Linked DNA regions of Homo sapiens: all the other regions are linked to region 1. The links are contacts of gene promoters, found by promoter capture Hi-C in blood cells and fetal thymus (Javierre and others, 2016). All regions are on one chromosome and are shown on one strand. Each heading gives the region's core, a stretch centred on a gene start or on the middle of the fragment in contact. The rest is flanking DNA. Distances are from core to core; before and after follow the strand shown. Region 1 holds the start of RBM17 (RNA binding motif protein 17). Region 2 holds the start of PRKCQ (protein kinase C theta). Region 3 overlaps PRKCQ (protein kinase C theta). Region 4 overlaps PRKCQ (protein kinase C theta). Region 5 overlaps PRKCQ (protein kinase C theta). Region 6 overlaps PRKCQ (protein kinase C theta). Region 7 overlaps LOC124902370 (a long non-coding RNA gene).

The links. The method cuts DNA at HindIII sites, captures the fragments that hold promoters and counts their contacts. A CHiCAGO score of 5 or more calls a contact.
Region 2: the fragment with the promoter of PRKCQ here is called in contact with the fragment with the promoter of RBM17 in region 1 in 1 of 17 cell types (fetal thymus); the score reaches 6.5 in fetal thymus.
Region 3: a fragment that was not itself captured here is called in contact with the fragment with the promoter of RBM17 in region 1 in 1 of 17 cell types (neutrophils); the score reaches 7.4 in neutrophils.
Region 4: a contact is called between a fragment that was not itself captured here and the fragment with the promoter of RBM17 in region 1, in 1 of 17 cell types (neutrophils). The highest score is 5.7, in neutrophils.
Region 5: a contact is called between a fragment that was not itself captured here and the fragment with the promoter of RBM17 in region 1, in 1 of 17 cell types (neutrophils). The highest score is 6.2, in neutrophils.
Region 6: a contact is called between a fragment that was not itself captured here and the fragment with the promoter of RBM17 in region 1, in 2 of 17 cell types (neutrophils and non-activated CD4 T cells). The highest score is 6.8, in neutrophils.
Region 7: a fragment that was not itself captured here is called in contact with the fragment with the promoter of RBM17 in region 1 in 17 of 17 cell types (M2 macrophages, non-activated CD4 T cells, M0 macrophages and 14 more); the score reaches 20.3 in M2 macrophages.

Annotation. Positions count from the first base shown.
Region 1 is chr10:6,087,161-6,090,745 of GRCh38, reverse strand. RBM17 (RNA binding motif protein 17) reads right to left here and starts at 1,712. Exons shown (of 12, transcript NM_032905.5): 1 at 1,553-1,712. RefSeq lists silencers at 981-1,040, 1,311-1,400, 1,411-1,850 and enhancers at 216-1,054, 2,011-2,060. The HindIII fragment of the contact is 5,297 bases long and covers 1-2,504 here.
Region 2 is chr10:6,578,298-6,581,882 of GRCh38, reverse strand. PRKCQ (protein kinase C theta) reads left to right here and starts at 1,607. Exons shown (of 18, transcript NM_006257.5): 1 at 1,607-1,672. PRKCQ-AS1 (PRKCQ antisense RNA 1) reads right to left here and starts at 1,458. Exons shown (of 2, transcript NR_036503.1): 1 at 956-1,458. RefSeq lists silencers at 1,196-1,345, 1,356-1,605. The HindIII fragment of the contact is 7,587 bases long and covers 1-3,585 here.
Region 3 is chr10:6,488,835-6,492,419 of GRCh38, reverse strand. It overlaps PRKCQ (protein kinase C theta), which reads left to right. Exons shown (of 18, transcript NM_006257.5): 8 at 608-737. Among named protein-coding and RNA genes, the nearest start is that of PRKCQ, 90 kb to the left of the region's middle. The HindIII fragment of the contact is 4,374 bases long and covers 1-3,585 here.
Region 4 is chr10:6,460,681-6,464,265 of GRCh38, reverse strand. It overlaps PRKCQ (protein kinase C theta), which reads left to right. Exons shown (of 18, transcript NM_006257.5): 14 at 1,901-1,963. Among named protein-coding and RNA genes, the nearest start is that of LINC02656, 110 kb to the right of the region's middle. The HindIII fragment of the contact is 1,528 bases long and covers 961-2,488 here.
Region 5 is chr10:6,442,836-6,446,420 of GRCh38, reverse strand. The region is part of intron 15 of PRKCQ (protein kinase C theta); the gene reads left to right. Among named protein-coding and RNA genes, the nearest start is that of LINC02656, 94 kb to the right of the region's middle. RefSeq lists an enhancer at 3,361-3,530. The HindIII fragment of the contact is 2,263 bases long and covers 914-3,176 here.
Region 6 is chr10:6,425,407-6,428,991 of GRCh38, reverse strand. It overlaps PRKCQ (protein kinase C theta), which reads left to right. Exons shown (of 18, transcript NM_006257.5): 18 at 630-1,844. The coding sequence ends at 785. Among named protein-coding and RNA genes, the nearest start is that of LINC02656, 77 kb to the right of the region's middle. The HindIII fragment of the contact is 3,583 bases long and covers 1-3,358 here.
Region 7 is chr10:6,399,379-6,402,963 of GRCh38, reverse strand. LOC124902370 (a long non-coding RNA gene) reads left to right here. Exons shown (of 2, transcript XR_007062044.1): 2 at 1,163-3,585. It also overlaps a transcript of PRKCQ not described here. Among named protein-coding and RNA genes, the nearest start is that of LINC02656, 51 kb to the right of the region's middle. The HindIII fragment of the contact is 5,114 bases long and covers 1-3,585 here.

The sequences.
Region 1 (3,585 bases), core at 463-2,962:
CACCTGTAATTTAGGCGAATAACAGAACTTCCTTCACTATTGACTATTATGAAAGGTTTGAGAGATGACTAGCCTGGGATCATCTGTTCCCTGCTGGGAGGAGGTCTGAAAAATTCATAGGCAGGGGAGAATGGGAAGGTAAGTTAAAACAAACCAGGTAAAAAGAAATCCACTTTAAATAAAGCTGCATTTGGAAGTGTACAACAATTCTCTCAAGAGCCTCCAGAAAGGCTGCCTTTGGTTCCGCAGAGCTCCACAACCGCACAACCTGCTCTGTTATAAACTGGACAGCACGCAGCACCTTGCTTAACTAACTCTAAAAATAAAGCCCTCTCGTTTAGCTCACTAAACTGTTACCCCATATTCCCTAAAAGCTGTCATTACGATCAAAATGTCTGCAGCCTTTACAACTAAAAATGTGGAAACTTGTGTTGCATCCTTTTAAAAACTCCATCTGCTGCGGGGAGCCAGTGCACATCTACCCATCTATTTGAGTATATGCGAATCTTGCCCTTATCTAGAATATCCTATTTCCCATCCATATGCCTGGCTCTAGCAAAATAAGGACCCTCAATGGCGCTTCTTTACTGCTTCTCAAGAAACCTCCATGTTCTGACCTGACTACTCCTGGAAACACAGCAGCCCCTCCTCAAACCTTTCTTTCTGCCTAACCTGCAGCTTCCAGAACGCACTACGGGGCTTCGCTTCTGCTACTTTCGCACTTACTTCCTCCGCCGGCAGCCTTTTTCCCACCTCTCACATCTAACAACGTACCTTCAAGACTCAACATAAGCATGACCTCCTCTCTCAAGAGAGGTCCTTCCAGACCCCACTTGCGTTTCTCAAATCAACCCGGGCCTGGGTTTTCACGCCTGCTTTCCCAGAAACCAAACTCCTGCAAGCAGGGGCAGAACCTCATTCCACCTGCATTCTCCGATCATTACACATTCTCGGGGCAAGAGGCGAAGCTCAAAGACTGCCTGGGGTCGGACGTGAGCGCTGAAACACCGCTCAAACTGCACGAGCCGAGGCGACGCCGGGGTTAGGGCTGCATTCCTGTCCCGGGCAGCTCCGGAGTCTGAGAAACGCCAACGTCTGCACTCCCAGTTCTGAGACCCCGGGAGGAACCGGCTCCGAGCCCCAGAGAGGGGCAACCGTGCAGGGCCAGGGGGGACACGCTACGGGCTACTCGGTTCTGGTGACCAGACAATTTCGTCAGGATGCGGTGCACGAGACGGAGAAGAAACGCTCTTCAGCACCAAACAGCCCGAGGCAGACATGAGGAGGAGGAGGAGGAAGGGAAGAGGGAGAAGGTCAGGGCCAGGGTCACCAGAGGCGGCGGCGGGCGGAGGGTACCGGGCCGCAGCCGCGTGGAGAGACCAGCGCCCGCCGCGGGGACTGAGACCCTCGGAGGCTCCGGCTGCGCTGGCCCGGCCTCCGCCCCTCGCGACGGGCCTAAAGCCGCGGGCTTGCGTCTAGCGCCTCCCGGGAAGGCGCGCCCGCCTCAGGTCCCGCCAGGCCACCCACCCGGGGCCGCCGGGGCGCCACTTACCCGGCCCGCCCGGCCGACTCTGCCCATGAGCCGCGCCGGCGGCAGAGCGGAGCCGGGCGGCACTCCGCGGAAACCCGCCAGCGGCAGGAGGCCTCGGCGGCGCCCACCCTTCGCTGAGTCCTCAGGGCGCTCGGCGGCGCGGGGTCAGGGAGCGCGGGCTGCCGGGAGAGCGCGCCCGCGCCTGCGCCCCGCCTGCGCCTGCGCCTGCTTCGGCCTCTGCGCCTGCGCCGAGGGCGCCTTGCCGCACTGCCCCCTGCCCGCGGGAGGACCGCACTGCACGCTCCCCTCCGCCGGCGTCTTCTTACCATCAAGAGGTGTCGCCCTGGCGCACATTTTCGAAATTCCACAAGGCTTGGGGAGCGCGGCAGCGCCCCCAGATGGTGAGGAGGAGAAGTGGTCCGAGGCCGGGCTTTCTGATAGGGGAGGTGGGGGAAGTCCCTCCAGGCCCCTCGATCTCATTCATTCAAAGCCACTCCTATATAAGCAAAAAGTTGAAAATAAGTCTGCATAGGCCAGATGCTGCAAAAGGATGGCAAGGAGCACGAGGTTAAGCGTAAGATTATGGAAACAGATGCCGCGATTAGGGGTACAGAAAAGAATGTCAATGCTATAAAGCCTCGGTCTTTAAAAACGACGTCGCTGACAGAAGCAGGGAGGGAAAGGGAAAGTGGGACTTCGGGTAAATATGATTTTTACATCTGTAATTAATTGGGTGTCAAATAGAGTTCAAGCCGATAAATCAAATAGTAGAGATTTAAGCAGACGTCTTAGTCCGAAGGAGTATACCAAGAAAGTTACTATAATCCATTAAAATCCAGTCATTAAGAAAACGGGAAAAGGGGGAAAAAAGAAATACAGTGGAGAGACAAAAGACAATCTAAAGAAATAGAGGATTAAGGACGTCATGGGATGGTATGATTCTGAGGGTAACCCAGAACAAAACTACAAAGCTTTCAAATAATCCACACATACATGCACCCACACATACATGCATGCACACACACACACACACACACAAAACCACAGCAAAAAAAATATATATATAGGGAAATATTTTAAAAAGTTACAAAACAGAAAGCGTAACCAAACTATATGACAGAACAAGACCAAATGTCTCACAAGAAGAAATATAGACCTAAGCTTACCTACTAAAAAACTACAATCTCAGATAGGAGCACAAACCATCATGCAACTCAGTGTTGTATACAAGAAAGTGCTAACGTTATTCTGAGTTTGAAAATACAAGATTGGAAAAGATATACCAGGAATATGCAAAAAAATTAAAAAAATCAGGAATCACAAACCGCTTACTACAAAGTTGATTTCAGGGCAAAAAGCATTAAGTAAGATTAAGAAGGACATTTTATAATCTTGAGGAGCACAATTCACAATCAAGAAAAAAATAGGAAAAATAGGAAAATCTTTGCACCAAATCACATAATCTCATTATTCATAGCAAACACTGTAGGAGTGAGTGAATAGACAGAAATAATTGGCACACTCCTTGCCAGACGAAGAGTACAAAAAGTAAATGGGGATTGAGAAGACCTAAAAATACAATTCCTATGATAGATCTAATATATCAAACACTGTCCCCTAAATAGACATTACATCTTTTCCAGTGTCTAAGGAATATTCACAACAATTAGTCATATTTTAAACCACAGAGAAAAATCTTAACATAGTCCAATAAGTAGAATCATATCGGTAATATTATCTGCAGCAATTCAATAAAAGTAGAAATTAATGAAAAAACAGAAAATAAAACATGCCTACCCCTTGAAAATTTTTAAATGCTTAAATAACACTTGGACTAAAAAGGAAAACAAAATCAAAATAACATAATATCTAGAAAAGTATGAAAATGACATACTCATGGGATTTAGCTCAGAGAGTACTAAGAGGAAAATTCATGGTTTTAAGTTTTTGTATCAATTAAAAACTTGGAAAAAGCTAAATGAATTAAGCACTTGTGCAAGAAACTGGAAATAAAATAAAAATGTGAGAAGCAGAAGGACGTACTTGGTCAATAA
Region 2 (3,585 bases), core at 358-2,857, 490 kb before region 1:
GATCTTCCAAGAGCTACAGCCTCTGGCCTGAGGGTCAGTCCAATGCTGTTAGATATTGACAAATGCGGGGCTAATTTTAATGGAATATAGTTTTATCCTTAAAAGGTGTGTGTGTTTTGGCTTTATTTGGGTTCATATAGATTAGGGGCATCATCATAACTCGCTTCCTAGTGCAGACCTGAGTGATTTAATCAAGTCTTGAAACACTTCGGGGCCTCAGTTTTTCATCTGCCTTCCCAACCTCTGAGGTTCTTTTTAGTTGACATCCTACATTCCCATGATCAGAAGGCTGCTAATTCAACTTTTGGCTTTTGTTAAACCTTTTTTTTTTTTGAGGCAGAGTTTTGCTGTCACCCAGACTGCAGTGCAGTGGTGAGATCTCAGCTCACTGCAACCTCCTCCTCCCAGGTTCAAACGATTCTCCTGCCTCAGCCTTCTGAGTAGCTGGGATTACTGGCACGTGCCACAACACCCAGCTAATTTTTGTATTTTTAGGAGAGACACGATTTTGCCATGTTGGCCAGGCTGGTCTCAAACTCCCAGCCTCAAGCGATCCACCCGCCTCAGCCTCCCAAAGTGCTGGCATTACAGGCATGAGCCACCGCACCTGGCCTGTTTTGTTTTGTTTTAATCGTTTTTAATGTCTCTCTCAAAACAAGAAAAGAAAAAAGGACAAAAAATTACTATTTTACTTCTCAGATTAATCTGATCTTAGTACACTACAGCAACAAAAGTCTTAATCAAGTACGTTTTAATTATTTGGTGTCATCATTGCAAGGAAACCATTCAGTAAGAATATTAGTAACCAGACATATAATTTTCTAACCTGAATGAGAAATTAGTTACATGGAGTATAGAAAAAGAAACCACCCCGTTTATCCTCCCTGTGACCATCATTAGTATTACCCGCAAGGCATAAAAAGTCCTAAAATGACACGCACGGCGGCAACATTACCTTTGCAGCTTCAAGCACAGTAAAGTTGAAAGCAGTCCCACCTTGGCAATTGTGTATAAAACGACAATGTGCAGATACAGGAAAAGTCCCAGGTCCGAAGCCACCTAGGAACGATGACCCCAGGACAGAAGTGTGCCCAAACAAATGCCTGGGGTAGGTCATTTTAAAAGGAACAATGTTTACAAGCCCTTTCTAGCGTGAAAAACAGAGAAAAGAGACCCAGCTCTTTCCACCCAATCTGCTGGAGCGCCGTTTCGTTTTCAGTTGGGCGAGAGGGAGACATGTGGCCTCTCGCCCCTTTTCCTGACTCTGAGAATGTGGCCGGAGCCGGGGCGCTCCTGCTCCGCCTCGCCGCCCTCCCGGGGCTGTCCTGGGCCCTCCGGCCGCCGCCTCCCGCTCCAGTTCGCAGCTGGGCGACAAGTGGCTGGTAAGGAGGCCAGGGGCGGGAGCCTGGGCGCGGGACCGGGGGCGCACGGCGGGGGACCGAGCGCGCGTCCCTGGCTAGAGGTGCCGGGTCCCGGGAGGCCGGGCTGGCGGGGAGGCTGGCGAGCGCCCCCTGGCGGGCACCGCCTTCTAGGCGCACCCGCAGTGCGCCGGGCCCGCCAGCCCCGCCAGCCCCGCCAGCCCCGCCAGCCCCGCCAGTCCCCGCGCAGTCCCCGCGCAGTCCCCGCGCAGTCCCAGCGCCACCGGGCAGCAGCGGCGCCGTGCTCGCTCCAGGTAGGGCCCCGCGCCCCGCGCCGCCGCCGGGAGGGAGCGGGCTGGAGGGGCCGAGACCCGTGGCGAGAAGGGCTACCCGGGCCCCTCGGAGAGCCTCCGGGAAGGGGTGAGGGCTGCCGGGTGAGCAGGCGGAGTAGGAAATGGAACCAAGCGGGCGCAAGAGCGCACCGGGAAGAATTTCCCCGCTGGGTTTCTGGGACGCAGGTCGCACGGGATGCGGGATGCTGGCGACCTTAGCCGGGTGGGGGCCGCCGGCCTGGGGGCGCTTCCTCCTTTCTTCTCCCTTTTCCTTCTCACCTGAACGAAAGGGGGCCTGCGGGGAGGGAAGAAGGTGGAAAGTTTTTGTATTCTTGGTAAAAAAAAAAAAAAAAAATGCGTGAGGAAACATGTTTTCTGGAGATGGTATCCTGTCCACAGGGGAGCATAACCCCTTTTCTGGGAATGTATTGGAGCACGGACGGGGGTGCCATTGCTCAGGCTTCTAAACAAGCCAAGTTTCTGGTCAAGGGCCTGGGGGAGGGGGAGGCAGGTCTTTGAAAGATACCAAAAAAAAAAAAAAAAGAAAAATCTGCGTGCTCATTCCTGTAGCCTCAAGTGAGGTTATTCCCCAGCTTTGAGGGCCAGGTTAACCAAGCAAAGTTTGTGCAATAAAGTATCTTTGTGGTATTGGATTTTCGAGAGCCACCGTTATCAATGGGAGAGTGACTGTTGAATGCTACAGGCGTGTGCACTCCCCCGTGGGCATGAAGAGAGGTCCACGGGCTGGCTGGATTGGGAGACTCCGGTCATTTCTGCAAGGAGAGCGCCACAGGACTGCCTTGTTCCCTGGGCTGTCCTGCCCCTGTGCGGGCTGGACGTGGTGCTATAAAAGATGATTCAGGAGTGGCACAGGCTGAGGGGGACTAGGCTGGAGAAGGTGGAGGGAAGAGGGAGCACTCCGTGCCCTCTTCCTGTCCATGGGAAATGAACCATCTGTGCCTGGTGTCCAAGTCCTTGACGTTCCAGTTGCCCTTTGAGAGCACACCTCAAGCCTGCTGAATTCTTTTAAGAACCACCTACAAGATCTGAGAAGTCCGCCCATGCTTTCTGTCAACTCCGGCCTCTTTGACCTTTTCTTTTGCCAAAGAAAATTCTAAACCACTGGGATTCGTGAGGCTCCGTGAGAGAGGCAAGAAGCCTGGAGGGTCCACTCCGTTGCTCTTTTCCCTTGGTTTGCTCCCTAGAAGCCATGGTCCCCACTGGGCCCTTCTTGCCCGAGGCTGTGTGATAGACAAGCCCTATTCCTAAGGTCCTGGGTCCCCCACCCCACCCCACACCCCGACCTTGTGAATCATCATCTTCATATTTTCCCTAACTTATCTTTGGTAACCCTTGTAAAATGGCAGGCTTACTGCGGATGCTTAATCTCTTTTAAAAGTGCTGTGTCTAGCGGGAAGAAGAGTGACATTTACTAATATGGTTGCAAATTACTTTTGAAGTTTATGCACAGCTGTTTAAAATCCCTCTGAGATCAGTGCCATTGTTTGATGCAGGTGCTTACCGCAGAAGGCTCTTGTTAGTCCCTTCCTCCTGCTGATTGAACATACATATATTTAAAGACGTGGCGTAGGGAGAGCTTCTAAAACCTGCAAAGCCAAAGCTGCACAGCTCCTGCAAGTTAGCGATCCACTCTAAGTTTTTCAGTTGTTGTTTCTGTCTTCTTGCCTCTCATGAACTTCTGTTTCTGATTTCAAGAGTAACCTGCTGGGCACCATCAGCCTTTGTTTCAGTGACCTGCGATTTTCTTCTACACTTTAAAAATGTCAATATCCAGGCAAGACTCTTGTCACCCACCATCCGCGTTGTCATGTTCATTTCCGCTACTGTCTTGTGCTGTGGTGCCTCGGGATGGCAACTGTTACTTGAGGAGCTAA
Region 3 (3,585 bases), core at 799-3,298, 400 kb before region 1:
CCTATGTAATAGATGATGCGTGTGACATATTTGTTAACCGCACCTGGCAGGAACTGCTCCCTCCTCTTGCCACCTCAGTTCATGAATAATAGGTGTGAAAATGCTTCTCACATTAGGCAGTAATACTGATAAACCCATAGAAATGTTTCCTTTAAAGAAGGCATTTTTTTTTTTTTTTTTTACATCTTCCAAAGGTTAAAAGCACTAGTTCTGGACTGAAAGAGAAAAGGAAATATTTATAGTAAAACAGGAAGGGAATCTTCATCTATTTAAATGGGAGCACTGTTTCCTTAGCACTTTTTAAAATAACCCTCATGCAGTCTTCCTGAGCTTTTAGCCTGTCTGTGTGAATGCCTCAGATTTCAGCTGTCTGCAAGGTTCTTGCTACATGCAGAAGGCAAGCATGCCCCGTCACGTACAGTTGCTGAGGCTGCCTGCCTTCTTCAGGCATGACTGTAGGGCTTGACAAGTGACAATGATGGTTTAAAATGCACACAATGCCAGTGTTTTCATTATGATCTCTGTTAGTTATGCTAAGGTATCTGCAAGAACATCCAAAGTCGGGGCCCCAGGAATACACAGATTTCACCTTCTGCCTTTCTTTCAGTTCCACAAGGAGAGATTCAAAATTGACATGCCACACAGATTTAAAGTCTACAATTACAAGAGCCCGACCTTCTGTGAACACTGTGGGACCCTGCTGTGGGGACTGGCACGGCAAGGACTCAAGTGTGATGGTGAGTCCAGTGGGGGATGAGCATGGCCCGACGTGGACCCCCTAGGGGATGGAGCAAGGCTTTCTGGGGAACTGGAGGGAGGATGTAGGGGGTACCACTTCCACACCCAGCCCAGACAAGTCATGATCATAAGTATGGTCTTCTGGGGCAATAAGCCACTATGTTCCTTTCCTTGCACCCTGCAACACCCCCACCCACACATCCCAGAAAAGAGCACAACAGTTCAGGTTCAAGGTCAAACTCCTAGCTCCATCACCTTCTGCCGTACCATAGCCCTGGGGGAAATGAAGACAGTGTTTCTCCTCTCACTGGTCTTTCTACTACTAGTTTCCTCAGTGGGCTCTGGGCTGCCCCTTCCTAATCCCAACAGGTCTAGCTGTGTGGTACCCTAACCCTTCTCCTTTGCACCAGCCAGTAAGATTCTTTCTGTCATCTCATCAAGGAGCAAGCCCAGCACATTCATTTGGCTGACACATGGTCCTGCACAGAAATTCTGTAACATTAGCTTGAGCATCCATCCCTAAACCATTGCTGTGAACTCCAAGTGCCCAGTAAGAGGCTGGCCCGGTTGTGACCGTCATTGCCTGTTTTCTGGTCTTTCCTCCAAGGCCAGGATCGCAGCAGAGCCTAACCTGCCATTCATTATTGATGGAGTTTCTCAGACCTACCATCAAAAAAGGAAACAAGGCAAGGCTTTCTTGCTGTACAACTCCAAGTTGCTAAGGCGATAACGTTTAGAAGCTGAGATGCTGTTACACTAGGATTAAGGACTAGGGAAGAAAAAAAAAAACCCTCAAGAACTGACAAGGCACTCTGCTTTCTGGTTGGGGAGAGACGTGGGCAGAGCCCAGAGAATAGAGCCACAAAAGGAGAACCACCTGTTGCATACAGACAGCTTCTGATTTTTTTCTTCTTCTTTTACTTTTTTTCTGAGACAGGGTCTCACTTTGTTGCCCAGACTGGAGACTGGTGTGCAGTGGCTCGATCACAGCTCACTGCAGACTTGACTTCTTGGACTCAAGCAATCCTCCCACCTCAGCCTCTCAAGTAGCTGGGACCATGGGCATGTGCTACCATGCCTGTTTTTGTTTTTTTTGTTTTTCTTTGTTTTTTTTTTTTTTTAGAGGTATGGTCTTGCTATGTTGCCCAGGCTGGTCTCAAACTCCTGGGTTCAAGCGATCTTGTCTCCTCAGCCTCCAAAAGTGCTAGGATTACAGGAGTGAGTCACCATGCCTGGTGAGCACAGACCTTTTCTTATGATGAAGTATTAAATATATAAGCCACTTTATTTTTTCTTGGCAGCCCTATTTTGATCAGTGCTACTGACTAATGTATGTCCTCTCTTTTGAGCAATGAGGTACGTGATGGAAGGCGGCACAGCATCTTCCGCATTCTCCCCTTCTTCATCCCAATCCTGTTCACATGTCTGGTGGAACCCAGAGCGACCTCTCAGTGGAGGCAGGAGGGGTTAGGTTTTCAAATCATTACCTAAAGCAGACATCACAGGAGGCCAACATTAGCCTCAAGAATCCGTTCCTGGCCCCAAAGGACACTGACACGCTTTTCTCTACACCCCTGTTCAAGAAGACATGGATAGGCAGGGTATTAAGAGTTCATTAGGAGGTCAGAGACAAAACGTAGTGTCCCGGCATCCTGCATCCTGACGGTATCCACAGAAACAGGAGAAATTCTCGCCTCTTGGTTCTCCTGTGATGGTCTCAGGTCGGGTTCTCTGTCCTGGGAGCCCGAGAATCCACTTGCAAGAAGAGCTGGTCCCAGCAGCGCCGCGGCACAGCTTAGAACTTCCCAGGGGTTCCTGGGCGTTATTTCATGGCTCTTCTGCCTGCTTCGTTTCATTTCTTTCCTTGAATACTCTTTCCTTTCCGCTCCATTCTGTTCCCCGCTCTCTCCTACCACCTACATTTCAAGTGCTCCCCTCCCCTTTTTCTTTTGTCCCCTCTCCTCTCCCTCCCCTGCCCTGGTTTGTTTTCCATTCTTGCTTCTGACACTCCCGGGTCCCTGCCCCTCCACTGTGCTCACCCCGCCTGCTCCGCTCACCCCGCATGCCCCCGCGTCCTCCTTTCTCGACTCTTCTCGCCCTCTTCTCCAGCTCTCTTCCCTCCCTCTCTGCCTCCCTTTCATCCTGCCTCCTTGCAGGCCGTCGTCTTAAGTAGGGCCTCCTTAGCCTTTTACCCTGCCTTCTCTTTCTCCCCACAATAATTCCCAAGAAAATAGTCATCCAAAGGGACTCTTTGCCCTCCAAGAAACTGAGTTACGGCCTGATAGGTTAGTAACAAAGACTTAGGACCTTCTCGTGGAGATGGTGGTGGCCTTTCTTCGCGGCCATGCAAGTCACAGAGAAGCCTAGATGTGGCTACAGTTTTAAGGAGCAAAGTAAAACTCCATCCCTCTATGTTCAATCCTAGCTGACAACCTCACTTGGTGTCACGGTGATGCATAAGAAAATGGAGCTGGGGCTACCGAAGTTGAAACCTGACACCTTCTAAATAGGGCGAATGTGAGTTATGCGAGTTTTGCCGACAATGTGGAATTTGGAGCACAATCATGAAAAAAAAAAATCCTTTCTATAGTAAAGATTTTAGGCCGGGCACGGTAACAGACCTGTAATCCCAGCACTTTGGGAGGGCAATGCGGAAGGATGGCTTGAGCCCAGGAGTTTGAGACCAGCCTGGGCAACAAAGTGAGACCCCCATCTCTACGAAAAATAAAAAAATTAGTCGGGTGTAGTGGTGTGCACGCCTGTGGTCTCAGCTACACAAGAGGCTGAGGCAAGAGGATGGCTTGAACCCAGGGGTTTGAGGCTGCAGTGAGCTATGATTGCACCACT
Region 4 (3,585 bases), core at 475-2,974, 370 kb before region 1:
TCTTGCTGGTTTTTTTTTCCTTTTTTCCCACTTGGCATGCCTGAATCCCAGGGCCAGGTGAACCCTTGGGAATACATCGAGCAAGGCGACAGTTTTCCCAGGTTGTGAAACTGAAATTCGTGTCAGTTTGGTTTCATTTCTCTGTGATTTAAAACTAACTACTTAGTTTCTTAAGGAACCATCCCGATTCATCAGGCTTCTAACTAACCTGAGCACAGAAGCAAATATGTAACCTTTGGAAAGGAAGCAGTGAAATGGACTGCAGACCTCAAGGGTGGTCCCCAGGGATGGAGCTTGTAGCTGAGGCATCTTATGGAAAGCCTGATGTGGAGGCATAAAGCTTTAGGGAGCAGGAAGAGGCACTTAGTCCATCTGAGAACAAAGCTTCTCCTTCCTAGTGCCGGCAGCCTGAGACACCTGGAGACGGGGCAGGCTGTGTGTACCTGGTGGGACTGCACCTGCATCCACAGTTCTCACCACCACTCCTGCCCATGCTGTTCCCTTTGGGTCCCACTTCCTGCTCCCCATGACATGCAAGTAAAAGAAAGCTCTGCCACTGGGCTCCTTGGAAAATGATGAGTACATGCTAGCTTCCTTTGCTCAGCGCTCAATAATCCCTCCCTCCCATCTGCATGAACACTTTGAGTGGTTTAGGTTGAAGTGGGTTGAGAAATGGATTTGGTCCGCCAGCTTCTTAAAATCCCTGGCTGGAATGGCTGTTTATCACATCTAGTGGGTAGCACTCTGCTGAGATCATTGCTCTGGGAAACCTCAGCAATGCACCCAGAGGTAATTTTACTGGATTTCTGCAGCAGAGAAATCATCGGGCATTTTTCATGCCGGAAAGAATTCACTTAGTCCACTGTCGTCTCCAGCCAGCCCGGACCCACGCTATCCATCCTGTCCTAAATGCCTTCCAGGAAGGAGAATTTTGCATTCTTCCACAAGATCCAGCAAGCTTCCCTTCCAGGAAGCTATCTCTTATATCCGACCTTAATCCCACCAGTGATGGGGTAAACTCATTTCCTTTAACCTTGTCACCATTGAAGATGAAGTGTAACTTATCTTGCATCTGCTAATATCCTCTTTTCCACCTCATGGGCTGTAAGTGTTGCCCAGGCTAAAGGTTCTCAGTACGAAAATAAACCAGCTAGTTCTATTCAGAATGGTGCATACAGGTCTATGGGTGCCAACCAGAGTTTAAAACAAAGGGAGAAATTATTTGCCTATTATCTATACTATTACTTTTTTTTTTTTTTTTGAGTCAGAGTCTTGCTCTGTCGTCCATGCTGGAGTGCAGTGGTGTGATCTCAGCTCACTGCAACCTCTGCCTCCCAGGTTCAAGTGATTATCAAGCCTCAGCTTCCTGAGTAGATGGGGCTACAGGCGCCCAACACCATGCCCTGCTAATTTTTGTATTTTTACTAGAGATGGTGTTTCACCATGTTGCCCATGCTGGTCTTGAACTCCTGACTTCAAGTGATCCACCTGCTTGGGCCTCCCAAAGTGCTAGGATTACAGGCGTGAGCCACCGTACCTGGCCTATACTATTACTTTTAATGTCTGTGTATGTTTTATTAGCAATAGCAAAAACAACAAAAAAAATGACAATGTGAGCATTATTGTTTAAAATATAAGAACAAGTACTAGATACAGGCAGGACTCACTTAAGATGCCAGCTCTGTTTTATGCTGTTAGGACTGAGGCTGGAGGTGTCTGAGCCTCTACTTTCTTATGTGTAGAATGAATGGACAACATCTTCCTTGTTAGGATTAAACAGAGTTATGTGTGTATGCCATTTAGCCATACACAGCATGTCAGAAAAAGGTCAGTCTGGGTTTGGGATTTTATTTCGTTCCATGACAACATTCATGTTGAACCTTGGTTCTCCTTCCCCCAGGTTTTATGCTGCTGAAATCATTCTTGGTCTGCAGTTCCTTCATTCCAAAGGAATAGTCTACAGGTAAATTTTGCTTTGTGGAAACAAATGCTAAGATATCGGCTTTCCTGGCTCAGTTAATTTAATCATTGCACCGAGTGCTGTGAGACAGCCCATGTGATTTCCTGGGAGTAAGCTCCACACATAGGTCTGCTGCCCACAATGATTACATGGATGATGACTTACAACCAAGGAAGACATTCCAGTCTCAACAGCAGGAAAGTGCTGAGCTCATTCTGTCCTTTATGCTGGTTCTCACTTGAATTCCTTCTTTCACCTTCCTTTTCCCATTTTCACTGTCCTGTTTTCTCTTTCTTATCATACCTTACGGTTTCTTTCTCTTTTGTCCCCTTCATACCTCTTATTTTTGCTTGTCTTTGCTTTGAGCCACCTAGAAATGCTTATGGAATTTTCTTCTTCTCTGCTGTATGACATCATTTCACGTTCTTCTGTCCAAGCTCTTAGATTGACACTATTGTATCTCAATCTCCTCACTTCTTTTCTCAAAATGTAGTTGGCACTTATTTAACATACAAACCTTTACAAGCTTACTGTCAGATTTCCAACTCACTGCAGATTAGGAGGAAAAATAGAAAGGAAAAAAAAGAAAGGATCTAGTGAGGAGGATGGCTGAGCTGCTGGAGAGCAGATAATTAGTATTGAAGCTTTGGTGCTTACAGAGTGTAGAATTCACTTAACAAGGAAGGATCTCTCCATTTTCTGAGGGTGCAGTCAAGTGAGGGTTGCCCTATTTGGAGTCACACAACTAAAGGCTTAGAGGAGGTTTGAGAAGTAAGTATTCTTAAGCAGCCTCTTTGAATGTAATTTTTTTTGGTCTATCTACAAAATCATAGATTAAGAATCTGTTTTATAATTTTTTAATCTTCAGGAAATTGAGAAATACTCACCAGAATATTATTTTAAAACTCTTAGCAGAATTTTTTTAAATTTTTCTTTATATGTGTAAGGCCTGCAATGTATCTAAAATATTTTTGTACCTAGGCACTGACTAAATTGTGTGGGGTGGATGGATAGATGGATGGATGGATGATGGATGAGTGAACAGATGGTTGGATGAATGGATGAACAGATATTTGGATGGATGGATGGGTGTGGATGGTTGAATGGATGGACAAATGATGGATGAATGATGAATGGATGAACAGATGGTTGAATGGATGGATGAATGGATGGATGTGGATGGATGGATGGATGGATGGATGGATAAATGATGGATAAATGATGGATGAATGATGAGTAGATGAACAGATGGTTGGATGGATGGATGAATGGATGTACCTGGATGGATGGATGGATAAATGATGGATGGATGAGGAATGGATGAACAGATGGGTGGATGGATGATGTATGGATGATGGATGGATGGACAACGGATGGATGAACAGATGGTTGGACGGATGGATGGATGGGTATGGATGGATGGGTGATGGGTAAATTGAACAGATGGTTGGATGGATGGATGGGATGGATGGATGGATGGTGATGGATGGGTGGGGAGATAAATAAATGAAAGGGGCTGGGCACAGTGGCTCACACCTGCAAATCCCAGCACTTTGGGAGGCCAAGGCAGATGGATCACCTGGGGTTAGGAGTTGGAAACCAGCCTGGCCGACATGACAAATCCT
Region 5 (3,585 bases), core at 796-3,295, 360 kb before region 1:
GCACTCCAGCCTGGCCAACATAAGCGAGACTCTGTCTCCAAAAAAAAAAAAAAAAAAAAAAAACTGAGCATAGTGTGACCATGACAGCTTGAGGTTTAAAACCAAGAGGCACATTATGCTATGGAAGGAACATCACGTGGTAAAATCCTGAAAGACCAGATTCAGAACATTGCTCTCAGCTCACTAACTAGGAGACTTTAAGTAAGACCTTTGGCCTTTCTAAGCCCAATCATCACCCCCTATAGGAGAGGGATAACTGTGCCTAGCTCAGGGGGGTTCTTATCAATAAAAGACATAACGTCTGCAAAACTCCTAACACATATCAGTATTCCTGAGGCGAACACTCTGCTGCACGTGTGAGTTTGCGTTTTACTTCTTCCTCCTAAGGTAAAACTGAAATTTTTTACCAACATCGCCAAGCTTTGAAGCCTTAATTTGCACCACAGCTGTCTCCTGTCCTTCCAAATTTTCTTTTTGTTTGTCCTGCCAAAACGAAGTTGTTTACAAAGATATGTGGTTCAGAGACGTTTCTGGTTGCTTTGACGCCGCCTTGTGGGCAAGTCTCGGAAATTGCATGTGTCCCTGGCCCAGCAAATTGAGCAAAGATTGTATTAGGTGCATCTTATATTTCCTTATCATTCTCCCTGGGTCTACCTTCAGATGATTCCTTAAGGCAAAGCCTATTTTTTCTAAATTATAAAGTAAACTTTAGCATGTAAATATCGAGGTAAGAGTAGTGGGTAGCATTTTTATATTGGAAATCAGTAACATTGCAAAATTCTGTTTGCAACTTTATTTTCAGAAACGGGGACAAGTGCATCATCAAAGCAGATATTTATCATAACATTTATAGTTGTCCCATAAGACAAATCATCTTGACTTTGCTACTTTTCACTGGATCTCACAAGAAGCTTATAAGAAGCGGGCCAGATATGATTCCCGTTTTTCACAAACAAGAAGGGTGAAAGGGTCCTCCCAAAACTACACAATAAGGGATTAAGCCAGAAGTAGAGCCTGTGACGTTTTACATGGCCAGAAAAACTCTTGTGCTGCTGTTGATATTGTTCTTCTGTTTGTTTAGCAAGTCTGCCTTAGAGAGACTTCACAGCACCCCTGGGCCTCACTTAGCACTGATCTGTCTCCCAGGAGTGGGCCCCGGGGTGGTGGAGGGTCAGGGATGGGGTTGCCGTGCACATCAGTCTGCTCCATCTAAAAAAGCTCACCGACATCAAAACATCTGGCTTTCCTAGAAAATACTGGAATGTCTGGAATTTTTTTTTTTTTTTTTTTTTTTTTTTTGACAGAGTCTTGCTCTGTCACCTAGGCTGGAGTGCAGAGGCGCGATCTTGGCTCACTACAGCCTCCACCTCCCGGGTTCAAGCGATTCTCCTGCCTCAGCCTCCCGAGTAGCTGGGATTACAGGCGTGCGCCACCACACCCAGCTAATTTCTGTGTTTTTAGTAGAGACGGGGTTTCGCCATGTTGGCCAGGCTGGTCTCAAACTCCTGACCTCGGGTGATCCACCCGCCTCAGCCTCCCAAAGGGCTGGGAGAATGGCTGGAATTGTGGTGTCATTTTCTTTTCAAGGCCATCAGTGCTGCAATTCTGCCATTCATTCCAAAGGCCCATTAGAGAAGGAAGAGAAAAATTCCATGTCATACGAGTAGCGCCAACAAAAAAATACCTTCTGCGTGCGTGTGTGTGTGTGTGTGTATTTATGTGTGTCTGTTCACAGATGCACCCAGCTAAGCCCAAACACATTACAAGGTAGAACAGATGTTCATCCCCAAGAGAGTCTGACTGTCTTGCTTTTAAGTTTAGTGCCTCAATCCTATTATTCCTTCTCCATTTTGTTTTGGCTAATAAAGCAACTTGCCCGCAACTCATCCTTGGAGCAGCAGTCATGAATTAACGAAGATTTTTTTTCCCTCTTTTCCATTAAAAAAAATTTTATGTGCCACTATTATGTCCTAGGGTTTTGTTTTTAATTGTGGGAAAATACACGTAACATGAAATTTACCATCTGAACTATTTTTGTGTACAGTTCAGTAATGTTAAAAATAGTGCCAGGTGCGGTTAATCCCAGCACTTTGGAGGCCGAGGTGGGTGGATCACTTGAGGTCAGGAGATCAAGACCAGCCTGATCAACATGTGAAACCCTGTCTCTACCAAAAATACAAAAATTATCTGGGCATGGTGGTATGCACCTGTAATCCCAGCTACTCGGGAGGCTGAGGCAGGAGAATTACTTGAACCCAGGAGGCAGAGGTTGCAGTGAGCCGAGATTGTGCCACTGCACTCCAGCCTGGGTGACAGAGCGAGACTCCATTTCAAAAATAAATAGATAAATAAAATAAAGTGTATTGTATAGTTGTGCAATCAATCTCCAGAAGGTTTTCATCTTGAAAAACCAAAACTCTGTCCCCATTAAATACCAGCTCCCTATTCCCCCTCCCCACAGCTCCTGGCAGCCACTATTCCACTTCCTGTCTCTAGAATTTAACTATTAGGTTGGTGCAGAAGTAGTTACGGTTTTTGTCACTGAAAGTAAGGGCAAAAACTTCTGTTAATACTTAAGGTACCTTATGTAAGTGGAATCATTCAGTATTTGTCTTTCCCTGCCTGGCTTACTTCACTTAGCATAATGTTATCAAGGTTCACTCACGTAGCATGTGACAGGTTTCCCTTCACCTTGAAGGCTGAATAATATTCCTCTGTGTGGAGGTACCACATTTTCTTCAACGCCTTCCCTATCCCTCCTCCCTACCCTCTGCCCAGACCCTGGCGACTGCCACTCTCAGCTTCTATGAGTTCAACGTGTTTACGTTTCACATATAAATGAGATCTTGCAGCATTTGTTTTTCTGTGCCTGGCTTGCTTCACTCAACATCATGTTTTCCAGGTTCATCCATGTTGTTGCAAGTAGAGATTTTCTCCTTTTTCAGGGCTGATACTCCCCTGTGTATATATAGCACAGTTTCTGTATCCATTTATCCACTGATGGACACTTAGAGTCCATATCTTGGCTATTGTGAATGAAGCTGCAATGAGCAAGCAAGTGCAGCTGTCTCCTCTACATACTGGTTTTATTTCCGTTGGTAATTTACCCACCGGCACATTTTCCTTATTTCTTTCATCCATGGATGGGTCCTACCATGTACCATCTCAGAGAAGCTTAGGCACAGTTTGTTGGGATGTCAGACGCTGAGCAGAATGGCGCGTGCCCTCTACCTTCCAATGTCCAAAAAGGAATTCATTGAAAGATCAACATACAAAGCCTTTTTTGCCAGAAGAGTGGGTTGGTGAAAGGATAGGAATCTTTCAAAATGTTAGGTAGGCTTCCAGACTTTAAATCCTCCTCCCTAACAGATAGACTCAGACCCCGCTATCGAGCTGTAGGTAGCTCTTAGAGATCTTTCATTTCTAGATTTGAGTGCTTTGGGGTTTTTTTTGTTTTTGAGATGGAGTTTCTCTCTTGTTGCCCAAGCTGGAGTGCATTGGCATGATCTTGGCTCACTGCAACCACTGCCTCCCAGGTTCAAGCGATTCTCCTGCCTCAGCTTCCGGAGTAGCTAGGATTACAAG
Region 6 (3,585 bases), core at 318-2,817, 340 kb before region 1:
GCTTTCCCTTTCTCTGTTGTTTGGTTTGGTTTTGGTTTTTTTGCCATGAAAACCAATGGACCAAGTGGTCTGAAAGGAGTCTGTCCCAGTCTGTGCTGTCTAAAAAAGCCCAAGATACTTACTAATAAAATTAACAAGGGCAGGGGACTGACAACAGCCAAGAACGTTGATAAAAGAACAGGAATATGTAATTGTGAAATTCCTTCTCTCTTCCCATCCCTCCGCTCACACCCCCTCACTCCCTCTCCCCACCACCCTCCCTTATCCCCACCTTGTGTTCCATGAAAACTGAAGAGGCAGAGGTCAAATTCAGGTGGATCACTTTTTCAAAGGTTGCCAACCCTGCTTCATGTAAACCATTAGAAACATTAGATCCCATTTGAATGTCTACAGTCGTAGTCTTTCTGTGAATTTATGAATTTATATTATTATTAAGCTGAGGACACAGGATCACAGCCATGTTCAATGAGAGCTGGGCATGGTCATCTGTAGGCATTGCCTCCATTTAGTGTCTCTGCAAACACCAACTTTGCCATACGCAGATCACGGCCTAGATAACAAAAGTGAAGATCATGAACTTAATGGCTGATTTTTCTTCTCTTTCTTTCTTCCCTTAAACTCTGACTAAGAAATCACCATTTGACTGCAGCAATTTCGACAAAGAATTCTTAAACGAGAAGCCCCGGCTGTCATTTGCCGACAGAGCACTGATCAACAGCATGGACCAGAATATGTTCAGGAACTTTTCCTTCATGAACCCCGGGATGGAGCGGCTGATATCCTGAATCTTGCCCCTCCAGAGACAGGAAAGAATTTGCCTTCTCCCTGGGAACTGGTTCAAGAGACACTGCTTGGGTTCCTTTTTCAACTTGGAAAAAGAAAGAAACACTCAACAATAAAGACTGAGACCCGTTCGCCCCCATGTGACTTTTATCTGTAGCAGAAACCAAGTCTACTTCACTAATGACGATGCCGTGTGTCTCGTCTCCTGACATGTCTCACAGACGCTCCTGAAGTTAGGTCATTACTAACCATAGTTATTTACTTGAAAGATGGGTCTCCGCACTTGGAAAGGTTTCAAGACTTGATACTGCAATAAATTATGGCTCTTCACCTGGGCGCCAACTGCTGATCAATGAAATGCTTGTTGAATCAGGGGCAAACGGAGTACAGACGTCTCAAGACTGAAACGGCCCCATTGCCTGGTCTAGTAGCGGATCTCACTCAGCCGCAGACAAGTAATCACTAACCCGTTTTATTCTATTCCTATCTGTGGATGTGTAAATGGCTGGGGGGCCAGCCCTGGATAGGTTTTTATGGGAATTCTTTACAATAAACATAGCTTGTAACTTGAGATCTACAAATCCATTCATCCTGATTGGGCATGAAATCCATGGTCAAGAGGACAAGTGGAAAGTGAGAGGGAAGGTTTGCTAGACACCTTCGCTTGTTATCTTGTCAAGATAGAAAAGATAGTATCATTTCACCCTTGCCAGTAAAAACCTTTCCATCCACCCATTCTCAGCAGACTCCAGTATTGGCACAGTCACTCACTGCCATTCTCACACTATAACAAGAAAAGAAATGAAGTGCATAAGTCTCCTGGGAAAAGAACCTTAACCCCTTCTCGTGCCATGACTGGTGATTTCATGACTCATAAGCCCCTCCGTAGGCATCATTCAAGATCAATGGCCCATGCATGCTGTTTGCAGCAGTCAATTGAGTTGAATTAGAATTCCAACCATACATTTTAAAGGTATTTGTGCTGTGTGTATATTTTGATAAAATGTTGTGACTTCATGGCAAACAGGTGGATGTGTAAAAATGGAATAAAAAAAAAAAAAGAGTCCTCTTAATCGTTTACTTCCCCGCTTGCCCCCCACAAGAACTTGCTTCTGCTGTGTCAGTCCTCAAAATGTAGCTAGCATTGAGATGATGTTTTACAGTTGGGGGATTGGCTGGGCACGATGGCTCACGCCTGTAATCCCAGCACTTTGGGAGGCCAATGTGGGCAGATCACCTAAGGTCAGGAGTTCGAGACCAGCCTGGCCAATATGGTGAAACCCTGTCTCTACTAAAAATACAAAAATTAGCCAGGCGTGGTGGCGGGGGCCTATAATCCCAGCTACCTGGGAGGCTGAGGCAGGAGTAGAGTAAGACAAAGGGTGAGGAAGTCAGATGACATTAAGGCAATTGTAAGAAAAGCAAGTCTGCATAATATTCGGAGTCACTAGCCTACCTCATCACATGGCTGGAAATAACTTTAGATATTATATTTAAAATAGAATAATTAATATAAGCAGACTGTTGACAGTCTGCAGGTGTGCTGGAACATTTTCCTGACTATACGGAGCTCTTGTGATTTTTTTTAAATAGACACTCCCCTAAAATGAACACGAGTAACCTCATTTAAGGATGGGCATCTATCTTCAGATGTGTCCATTCAGGTGTCCGGGCCCTTTGTTCTGAAAATAGCACCATGACTACAAACCTCTAGTTATGTGAGAAGGCGACACTTGTCCTCCCCTTGCTCCAAATGAAAATGCTCACACATGTTTACCAAATTCACCTGCTTGAAGGAGGGAGAGGGTCCTTTAAGGCCCTGGATGGGCCAGTGGAGGGCAGGGAGCCGCCCGTTCTGTTCTGATCTCTGCTCTGCTTTGCATTTGCTGTGAAGCCCTGAACAAGTCATTTCATCTTTTGGGGCCTCCAAGTAATGGAGGTGAAGATGCTGTCTAAAGTCCCGTCTCACTAGAGTGATGGGGTCGGTGAAGACGCTATCTAAAGTCCCTTCTCACTAGAGCAATGGGGTTGGTGAAGACGCTATCTAAAGTCCTCACTAGAGCGCTTTCTGGTTCTAAATCTGAATCAAAATCCTGCAAAGTTAAAAGGTCAGTGAGCAACACTTTCCAAAACACAGACACTCGTGGATTCCACTCGCTGCAGGCCTGGGGGCAGCTCTACCCCATTTTCCTTCCAGTCGTCCTCTCCTCACTCTGGGTTCCCACATACCCCTGCCCCAGCACCCAGCATCCTCCTGACACCCAGAGACCCCAACAGGACCCCTACCAGGAGACAAATAAGTGAAGACTGTTGGCTCTTAGAAACAGGAACCAACGCAACTTTTATCCCCTCCACTAGACCAAAATAAGGTCTATTCATCATTTGGTTTTGTTTGTTTTATTTTTTATTTTTTTGAATTAGAGACAGAGTCTCCCTATGTTTCCTAGGCTGGTCTTGAACTCCTGGACTCAAATGATCCCCCTGCCTCACTCTACCAAAGTGCTGGGATTACAGGCCTCATCATTTGTTTTTAATAAATGTCATCTGTATGAATATGTCAGGTGACTAACAAGCTTACTATTTGCTTCGTATTTCTGAGTGTGCGAAGTACTTGTTACTTCCTTCTATTCTTTCAGGTGTCCTCTGAAATTGCTTATTAATATCCCTATTTAATAGGTGAGAGACCTGGCCAGGTGCGGTGGTTCACGCCTGTAATCCCAGCACTTTGGGAGACCCAGGCAGGCAGATCATGAGGTCAGGAGTTTGAGACCAGCCTGACCAACATGGTGAAACCCCGTCTAC
Region 7 (3,585 bases), core at 695-3,194, 310 kb before region 1:
TAAAAAGTGGTCCTAATTCCCTTCATGGAATTCTTTTTGTTTCTATTTGGTTTTGAGACAGAGTCTCATTCTGTTGCCCAGGCTAGAGTGCAGTGACACAATCTCAGCTCACTGCAACCTCCACCTCCTGGATTCAAGTGATTCTCCTGTCTCAGCCTCCAAAGTAGCTGGGACTACAGGTGCCCACGACCACACTTGGCTAATTTTTGTACTTTTAGTAGAAACGGGGTTTTGCCATGTTAGCCAGGCTGGTCTCGAACTCTTGACCTCAAGTGCTGGGATTTACGGGCATGAGCCACCCTGCCCGGCCCTTAATAGAACTCTTAAAGGCCACACAGTGCTTCACTTTATACAAGAAAGCTCGGAACAGAAAAAGTAGTTACTGCCACTCTTCTTTGAAATTGTTAAGTCCCCTTTGCTTCTTTGGGTACACGGAGAAGTTGCCAAGGCAACCCGAGCAGGGAGATGCGGAGTCAGGCTTTTCTGTCTGTGTCCTTCATGTTGGGTACAGTGCTTCACACATGGTAGGCGTGAGGGAGGAAAGAGCGGAAGGAATAGATGAAGCTCAGCTTTTTTTTTTTTTTTTTTTTTTGGCATTGAAATTGCACTCTTTTGGGGTTTTTTAAAATTATAGTTTAAGTTCTGGGGTAGATGTGCAGAACACGCAGTTTTGTTACATAGGTATGCACGTGCCATGGTGGTCTCCTGCACCCATCAACATTAGGTATTTCTCCTAATGCTATCCCTCCCCTAGTCCCCAATCCCCCAACAGGCCCCGGTGTGTGATGTTCCCCTCCCTGCGTCCATGCGTTCTCATTGTTCAACTCCCACTTATGAGTGAGAACATGCGGTGTTTGGTTTTCTGTTCTTGTGTTAGTTTGCCGAGAATGATGGTTTCCAGCTTCTTTGCAGCGTCTGTGTTCTTCCAATAGTTCCCAGCCGCACTATTTTGGACTTGAGTCACTAGAGGGAGGCAGAGGAACATGAAAAAGCTGCAGTTTCCGTCCCTGCTGGGCAGGGCTGCCTCAGACCTGAGCTGAGGACTCAGGAACTTCAGTGACCAGGCAGGATTAGAGATGGGAAGAATTCCAGGCTTCAGCCTTCCCCTTAATTCAAGATGTGTATTCTGCCTTTAATCAGAGTGTAACCTATGTATTTGTAGGAAATAATAAGAAAAAAGCTGCTTATTGCAGAGCCATGTAGAATTATCGGGTGGAAGTCAGAGAAAGAGACGGCGGGTCAACAGCTCCCAGCAGACAGCGTGACTCAGCAGGAAAGCCCGTGGGAATCAGAGCTTTGGGACCAGAGTGCCCTGGCCCCGCAATCCTCACCAAGTGGCTGGCGCTCAGAACCCCAGGTGTTGTAATCAGTAAAAGGGTGGCGGTAATCACTTCTACCTCATTGGGTTACTATACAAAGCACGAAAATGGATCAATATTTAAAAAAAAAAAACCAGCCCTCTCCTAAAACAGAGGAGAACTATATGGATGTCAATCCAATTATTACTATTAACCATGTGTTCAAGTCATGAGGTTGTCTACTTAATTATGTCCTTAAAGTTTGTTGACCTTAAATAAGGTGATACAGAAAATATGATGAAGTATGGGGTTTATTTGAGTACAGAGCTTGAGAACGGTCACCCGGAAAACACAGACCCCAAAGGGACATGCTCTAAAGTGGGGAAGCTAAGGCTGTGCTTACATAGGTAGAGATGGTTTCGGCAGGTTGCAATGTTTTCCGTGCAAGGCTAGATACATGTCATAGCGATTTGATTAGGGTGGCTTGCTCCATTCCATGGAAGATGGCTGTAATGTTCTGTGAGGACAAGAGTAATGTTCTGAGGGGTCACCACTCAGAGGGTCTTATTTCTGGTGCTACTCGGTCATTCCTAATCGTTTACGGGAAAAAGCAGAAGTTGCAACGGCATGCTATGTGACTCAGTCCATTTCTCTCAAGGCTCAGAATAAAGTTCCAACAGTTTTAAATTTGAATTATTTAATTTTGCAAGTTCTCCAGAAGACAGTAAGCTCTAAAAGGGAACGAACTATGGTCGTTGTTCTTAGCATCTAACATGGTACCCATTCAATATTTTTTCTTTCTTTCTTCTGCTTTTTGTAGAAGTGGGGTCTTTCTATGTCGCCCAGGCTAGATTTGAACCCCTGGGCTCAAGCATCGTCCCACCTCAGCCTGCCGAGCACCCAGGACTGTAGGTGCATGCCAGCTGGCAGATTTTTTTTTTTTTTTTCAGTTTCTTAAATGAATGAGTAAAAACACTTACATGTAGCCAAACCATATAATTTACTAGCTAAAATGAGCCTTTTTTTTTTTTTTTCTGAAAGGAAGCACTGTTAGCAATTACTCCAGGAAACAGGTTAAAAGCAGAACTGTCCTGGGCCTGCCGAGACACGGGACGTGGGATTGCTCGAGAGATCCAGCTCTCGCTGTGTGTTGAAATATAGTTCAGGGCACACTGCTCAGGGCTGGGACTGCCCTGCGTATATGACAGTATTAAGTCATCTCACCTGCATAACAACACAGCGAGGTTGGTACTGTGACTACTCACATTCAACAAATGTGTATGGACCACCTGCTGTCTTCCAAGTCTTCCAGAATCTTGGAATGCATCAAAACACAACAAGCAAGATGTCTGTCCTTTCAGAGCAGGAGATGAGGAAGACAGACAGTAAATCACAAACATAGCAAACAAGTAAATTACATAGTTTGCTAAAAGGTACTGGGGCTACAGATGAAAGAAGGGCAGAGCCGGGGGATTCAGTGTTGAATGAGGAAACTCAGGTAGAGAACACCAAGTCAGCAGCCGACATCTCCAGCTGGCTAGTAACAGAGCCCCATTCTAACTTGGGCAATCTGGCCACGTTCCTGCTCTTCACCTGGACTCTGCCTTCTCTTTCAGTTCTGACGTGCGTCAAACCGTGCAGCATGTTCAAATTCATTCAAATCCATCAGTGGCACAGAAGAACACACAAAATCTGGCAATACTTCCTTGAACTAAACTCAGTGTCCGCCCCCCCAACCCCCGATTGATGCCAGACATTTGCCACCCTGGGGACTTGATCTGAGTGACCTTGGGTTCATAGGAGATGCTGGGCCCTTGGAATTGATTGTCTACCCTGTAGGAATGGAGGCCACATCTCTGTTCTGCCTGGAGAACTTTTTCATCATGAGTTTGTGGAATCCGCCAGCCAAGCCCACCAGACAGGACTAAACAAACGACTCTAGGGGGAAAGGCCAGGCTTCCTGAAAGTCTAAATTGCTTGAACTAATGCTGGCATTTCAGCATTTTGAGCCATTCAAGCCACATGATGTCAAACTTCCTCTCCTCCACCCCCATCTCCTCACCCTGCTCTCTTCTGCCTCTTGACCTTCCTCATCTTGTGGCTCTGGCAAAACTCCAGGGTGGCTATTCAACCTGTCTCAACACACCCTGTGCCAAAAAAAAATAAAAAGAAGGAAAAAAAAAAGGGGGCAATTTCTGTCTCCAGGGCAAGGGCTGCTGGGCTCAGCCGGGTGGATGTTGCCAAGAGCGCAGCAATAGCTCCAGGCTAGGCAGGGAGCACAAAGGAA